Linked DNA regions of Homo sapiens: region 1 is linked to region 2. The links are contacts of gene promoters, found by promoter capture Hi-C in blood cells and fetal thymus (Javierre and others, 2016). All regions are on one chromosome and are shown on one strand. Each heading gives the region's core, a stretch centred on a gene start or on the middle of the fragment in contact. The rest is flanking DNA. Distances are from core to core; before and after follow the strand shown. Region 1 has its middle 22 kb from the start of ERICH3. Region 2 holds the start of NEGR1 (neuronal growth regulator 1).

What was found. Contacts are between HindIII fragments. The CHiCAGO score rates a contact against its expected background, and 5 or more counts as called.
Region 1: a contact is called between a fragment that was not itself captured here and the fragment with the promoter of NEGR1 in region 2, in 1 of 17 cell types (naive B cells). The highest score is 6.4, in naive B cells.

What each region holds. Positions count from the first base shown.
Region 1 is chr1:74,694,107-74,697,322 of GRCh38, forward strand. No RefSeq gene overlaps it. Among named protein-coding and RNA genes, the nearest start is that of ERICH3, 22 kb to the left of the region's middle. The HindIII fragment of the contact is 1,846 bases long and covers 915-2,760 here.
Region 2 is chr1:72,280,874-72,284,314 of GRCh38, forward strand. It overlaps NEGR1 (neuronal growth regulator 1), which reads right to left and starts at 1,666. Exons shown (of 7, transcript NM_173808.3): 1 at 1,446-1,666. The coding sequence starts at 1,621. LOC105378797 (a long non-coding RNA gene) reads left to right here and starts at 2,061. Exons shown (of 6, transcript XR_947506.3): 1 at 2,061-2,532. RefSeq lists silencers at 1,853-1,912, 2,013-2,102. The HindIII fragment of the contact is 3,164 bases long and covers 131-3,294 here.

The DNA of each region.
Region 1 (3,216 bases), core at 588-3,087, 2.4 Mb after region 2:
GTCCAAGGTTGCCACACTACTGAAAAATAAAGACTATACCCTAGTTCTGTCTCATCCTATATTGTTACGGTACTGAAAGGAACACAGAGAAAAGCCACCTGATCATTAGTGAGGTCAGAAAAGCCTTCTAAGTAAAAGTAACACCTACGGTAAACCTTCAAAAGTAATATACTGAAATTAGGCAAAGAAAGGAGAGAGAGTAAGGCATCCTGGCCTGAAGAAATAACATCTGTGAATTATTGTGATATTGTAATTTCCATGAAGAGAGAAACACAGGTCTTAGTGCCTTTGTCTTTAATAATAAAGTAGATTGAAATTTAACTGTCTGAATTTGTTACTAAAATATAAATATACACCCCTCTAGAAACAATGACAGAATGAGTTAATATGTGATATAACTCAATCAGGCAATGCAAATAATCAGCATGAAGGAATTACCTATAAGCACAAGACTGACGAACATCTAGTATTCCAGATTTTAACAAAAGAGATATGATTGCCTATAAACAACTTTTCCCATTTGTAGTATATAATTAAATAACTTATGTGGCAATTAAATTACATGCCAATTAAACAGAATTGCAAGTGCTAACATAACAAGTTAAAACAAGTGGAAGTTATTACTGAAACACATCAATTGCTTTTTTCTACTAAGTTGAATTGACATTTAAAAAATTAACACTGACCTATGTTATGCACTTTCAGTATTTAGAATGTGAGTTAGGCTGTTAAAAGTTTTAAAGGTAAAAAATTGAAAAAGGGTAAAAGAAGTAGATTCTTGTTTCACCTAAATAAAATAATAAACAAAAATAATTTTTAATAGATTGGTTTTACTTATTTTTTAATTCCTTTTTTTCTCTGAATAATCAAAAATAAGCTTTACTTTGAAGTAAGATGGCAGGTGCCCAGAGCTAAGCTTTGATTGCACATAAAACCAGCTTTTTCATACTTGATCCAAATGTCAAATGTCAAATTTCTACTTTACAGTTAATGTACAAACATGTATATATACACCTCTGTGTGTTCTTCTGTGATACAATTTAAATTTCAGATTAAATGTGTATACATACATATGTATGTATATATATACACACACATACATACACAAATATATTAACTTTTATTTAAAGTTCAGGGGTATATGTGCAGGTTTGTTACATAGGTAAACTTATGTCCTACAGGTTTGTTGTACAGATTATTTCATTGCCCAGGTATTGAGCCTAGTTCCCATTATTTTTTCTGACCCTCTCCCTCCTCCCACCCTCCATACTCTGACAAGCCCCAGTGTGTGTTGTTCCCCTCTGTGTCCATGTGTTCTTATTATTAACTCCCACTTATAAGGGAGAACGTGTGGTATTTGGTTTTCTGATCTTATGTTAGTTTGCTAAGGATAATGGCCTCCAGCTCCATCCATGTCCCTGCAAAGGACATGATCTCATTCTTTTTTATAGATGCACAGTATTCTGTGGTGTATATGTACCACATTTTCTTTATCCATTCTATCATTGATGAGCATTTAGGTTGATTCCACATCTTTGCTTATTGTGAATAGTGCTGCAGTAAACATATGTGTGCATGTGTCTATAATGGAATGATTTATATTCCTTTAGGTATATACCCAGTAATGGGATTGCTGGGTCAAATGATATTTCTATCTTTAGGTCTTTGAGGAATCACCATACTGTCTTCCACAAAGGTTGAACTGATCTACACTCCCACCAACACTGTATAAGCATTCCCTTTCTCCACAACCTCACCAGCATCTGTTATCTTTTGACTTTTTTTTTGGGGGGGGGGGTGGGGGAAGGAGTCTTGCTCTGTTGCCAGACTAGAGTGCAGTGGTGTGATCTTGACTCACTGCAACCTCCACCTCTCGGGTTCATGCGATTCTCCTGCCTCAGCCTCCTGAGTAGCTGGGATTACAGGCATCCGCCACCACGCCCAGCAAATTTTTTGTATTTTTAGTGGAGACGGGGTTTCACCATGTTGACCAGGCTGGTCTTGAACTCCTGATCTCATGTTATCCACCCGTGTCAGCCTCTGACTGGTGTGAGATGGTATCTCATTGTGGTTTTGCTTTGGATTTCTCTAATGATCAGTGACATATTAATCCTGAGAGAGAAAATTGTACAGGTAGGAAAACCTGGCCTGTTATAATCTTTCACTCATCAAACTTGAGTGCCTGGGGTATGCTAGGTCTTATCCATCATCTCAAGTTGCTTAAATTCTAGGGCAAAAAAAGTTAAAATTAAAATGAAAATATTCATTCCTCCTGATAAGCAACTGCACGAGTTTTACCTAGTCCATCTTTTTGTCTATTGTGAGGTTTATAGCAATTCCCTTTCCATCATGACTGGAGTGACATCTGATGAATAGCTGCTCCCACATTTCACTAACCTTCCAAGGGGAAAGATGCCTATCTCATCTTCTAAATACTGCACACAAAGACATACACAGATCATCCTAAAACTAATCAAATGATTAATTTTCAAATTTACTCAGAGAAAAGGTAATAAATGGAAATAAATGGCATGAGCAGAACTAGAGGCAGGAGAGTGCTGGGTTTGAAGGGCAAATTGGAGGGGGAGGCAGAACAGCACCTGCTCCTTATGATTGGCTACATCTACAATATACGAAGTAGTGAAAAAGCTGGAAGTTGAAGGTAGATTACAAGTTCCATCCAGGGCTAGGTTTCAATGAGTGACTTTTGAAGAAGGATGGTGATTCAAGATAATTGAGGGTACTTTAGTGACCAACTTAAGCTTGGTGGGATGTGAGAGCTGCTTAGGGCCTTTGGACTGAGATTGGCAATGAAAGATCAAATGAAGAGAGGGACTGAATGAGGTCAAAGAGCAGGGAAAATTGAAATGAGGGAAAATGATTGATACAGTCTGAATGTTTGCATGCCCCCCAAATTTACAGGTACAAGCACCTAGCGCCAAGGTGATGGTACTAGGAGGTGGGGTCTTTGGGAGGTGATTAGGTCATGAGTACCCAGAGAGCTAGCTCTGCCCTTCCACCATGTGAGGACACAATGAGAAGGCACCATCCATGAACCAGAAAGCACATCCTTGCCAGACACTGAATCTGTCGGACCCTTGATCTCGTATTTCCCAGCTTCCAGAACTGTTAGGAATAAATCTCTGTTGTTTAGAAGCCACCCAGTCTAAGGGACTTTGTTATAACAGCCCAAATGGACTAAGAACATGATTTTAA
Region 2 (3,441 bases), core at 416-2,915:
ACAAGCCAACTACCACCCAGTGGAGAAAAAGAAGATCTTTCAGGGAAATGTGAGGTGGGGTGGCAGGGGGAGAAGGGAGGGTGATGGGAAAGAAATGAAGGAATAGGGCGTTTAGCTTTGTTTAGATCTAAGCTTTGCTGATCATCCATTTATATTTTCATAGGAAATAAAATATTCCCAGACTCCCACTCTGCAGTGTTGCTTAGGGGTAAAATCAGGGTATGGATGTTTATTAATGACAAACCACCTCAGAGCTCAAGCTCAGAGGAAAGAAGGGAAAATGAGAAAAATAAGTAAAAGTGAAGACTGATGGAGGGAGGAAGGTAGGAATAAAAAGGGGATAGAAAGACACAGAAAGAGAAAAAGAGAGAAGCAGAGACAGAGTGAGAGCAGCGAGTGAGACAGGCAGTGTGTACACATGTGTGAGTGACAATGTGGAACAGAGAAGGAGAGTATGCCTTTTAAAAACAGTGAGAGACAATCTGAATGTGGAAGTGGTTCTTACAGCATGGAAGTGCCAGTGCATGTGAGGATGTGAGAGTATGTGAGTTAGTATGTTTATGGAAATAAGATTTATGAGGGTGAGTAAATGGTACTGGAGGGGAACAGTGACCATGCCTGTGTGTGCCACAGGGGTGGGAAACGGTATGGGGAGAGGGATGAGAAATGGGAGTCAAAAGAGGGAAGACAGGGCACAGGATAGGGACATTAAGGAGGAATAAAAAAAATAGACAAAAAGAAAAAAGGGTAAAAGAGAGGAGGAAAGGGGATTAAATGTGAGGAACAGAAATTAGAGTCGTGGAGATAAAAATGAGAAAATATGAGAAGAAATTTTAAAAAGGAGGGAAAAAACAGAAAATAGAAAAGGTATGAAAAGAGATATTGGAGGGAAAAAGAGTTACAAGGAGGTGGGGAAAATGGTATAAGAGAATGAGGAAGGAGAAAAGAAAGAAAACAGAAAGCGGTAAAAGGAAAGAAAGATAAAGAGCAAGAAATCGAGCCTAAGTGTCCAAGTGAGAGGGAAAATAAATGGGAGCAGAGAACAGCAGTTTGAAAGAGTCGCTTATGCTGGAGTAAAATAGAAACAAACCTGATAAACTTGTCAGACTCTCCAGGAGTACCCCATGACAGTAAAACAGAGACCTTGTGCATTGAGTTTCAAAGTGGCACCTGCCCCTCCTTCTAAACCTGACAGTTCACTCATCCCCAGGCTACTTGGCGTTCCGGCAAAGTGCTTTAGCATCACGAGTCCAGCTTGCTACCTGCCCCAGCATAAACGGGCCGGGGCTCCGGGAAGAATCTGCACCTGGAATTCTTGGGATGTGGTCTTTCCATGATGAGCACCACCAGCATTATTGCTTGTGTTATAAAGAAGGCAAAGAGGGTTCAAAGAGAGACAGAAAGATAGACCGAAACAAGTACGAAAAGCACGCCGTTCTTCCTACCTAAGCACCGCCGTGTCCCCTTTTCTGACCATCATGTTGTCCACGGCCGCCCAGGGGAAGTCCACACTCTGTCCAGCCGGGAGGCAGGAGGGTAGCAGGCAGCACAGGCTGAGGAGCACCGCCGCCAGCCACTGGTTCGAGCAACAAGCACCCTGCACCAACAGCATCATGTCCATCCCTGCTAGGGCTGCTCACTCTCCAGCAGCTTTCAGCTCGCACTCCCCCACCCCCTGGTGCTGGCGAGTCTTCCCGGGAACCAGGCGGCGCGCCACAGGATTTTTTTTTTTTTTTTTTTTTTTTTTTTTTTTTGGTGGGTGGGTGGGTTTCTTTTCTTTCTTTCTTCCCCCCACCCCAGTTGTTGGGTGTTGTTTCTCTCTTTTTGTTTTTCGGTGTTTTTGCCTCCCCTCCTCCTCTTCGCTTTCCCTCCCTCCCTCCCCTCCCTCCCCCTGGCACCACACTACACCTCCTCTCGGTTGCTTTTGGCCGCGTCCGGAGTGTGTCTAATTCTCGGGCGGCTCGCACACCATCTAGCGAGGAGGCGAGCGCGCCGGCGAGTGAGGGAGGAGGCGCGGCGGCGGGGGAGGAGGCAGGGCGAGCGGCGGCGGCGGCGGCTGCAATCCCAGCAGCAGCAGCAGCAACAGCAACAGCAGCAGCAGAAGCAGCGCGGAGCGCTGCGCCGGCCGCCGGCTCCCGGGCTCGCGCGCGTTGCCAAGCGGCCGTTTCCTTAGCAACCCCGCCAGGGGACTGGGGATGGAGAAGGGAGGGGGATTAAAAAAATAATAAAAAAAGAAAGAAAAAAGATAGCAAGAAAAAAAAAAGAAAAGCAAGACAACGAAAAAAAAAATAGGAGGAACTGTATCACAATTATGCAAACTAAGGGGGAAAGAGAGGCACCTTAGAATGAAGGCTCTCCTTACTGTCGTAAGCGCTAGAGGGATTCTTTGCTAGAAAAGTCTCCGTGTCAGGGCTGGGGTGAAGAGAGCTGAGGGGCGCTTTGCCTTCCCTCACCGGTGCGTTTTACCTCTCGAGGCACCGTAAGTTTGAAGTCCTCCAAGTTGTGGTCGGCGCCATCATGACGCCGGCGACTGTGAGTTGTTTTTTTGTTTATTTTCTTCTAATCTTGCCTGGGTGGCTACGCTGCAGTTAGCGAGCAGCCAACTAGTTCTCTCTGCGTTTTCTCGGGAATAGGTAGGGACGGTGGCGGGGCGCTGCTTTTTTGCGGGGACACGAGGAGGTGCAAGGCCTTGCGGCAGAGCAGCTTGCGTGTTTGTGGCGGTCGGCCCGTATGGATTGCAGGACGCCCCTCTTTTATCTGTGGGTGTTGACACTAAGTTGTGTGTGTGAGTAGGGGATTGTTTATGGTCAACATGGAGTGTGTGTGTGATAGAGAGCGTGTCGTGCGCGCGGGGGCCTGTGCACGCGCGGCACGCAGGCGCGCTGGGAGGGACGGGGCGGGTCATGCTGGGATGTAGAGTCGGGAAAAGACTGCAATCAAGTGTTTTAATTGTGTAGAGCCCAGGCGGTCCAGTTATGTAAGAGGCAGTTTAACCCATTTGAGCCTATCAGGCCGAATAATCGGCGCATCCGAGTCAAGGCAGGGCAGAGTTAAGGGGTTTAACGAGTCGCAGGGTTGTATTTCTTAACAGCCTCCACACCGCGTTAACAGGCTTGCTCCTCCGCGGTGCAGAGCGGTAACCTCCGCTTCCCCACGCAGCAGCCCCTCCGCAGCTCGCCGGGCTGTTTTCAGCCCTGCCCTGGCCCAAGGCAGAAGGAGATACTAGGCGTGGGGCCACCCCTACTCTTTTTTCTTCTTTCCTTCTTGAACTCATTTCCAGATTCAAGATCCTTAAGCTTTTCCGGGCCATTTGCAAATCAATGCGAGAACCGAGGCTGAGTCGTTAGCAGTTACACCAATCAATCTTGTTCAGCGAGGAGTTTGGGAAGCAGAGCGGGGAAGTGAAAATGGAAAATAAGTAATTAAAAAATAAGCTCCCTC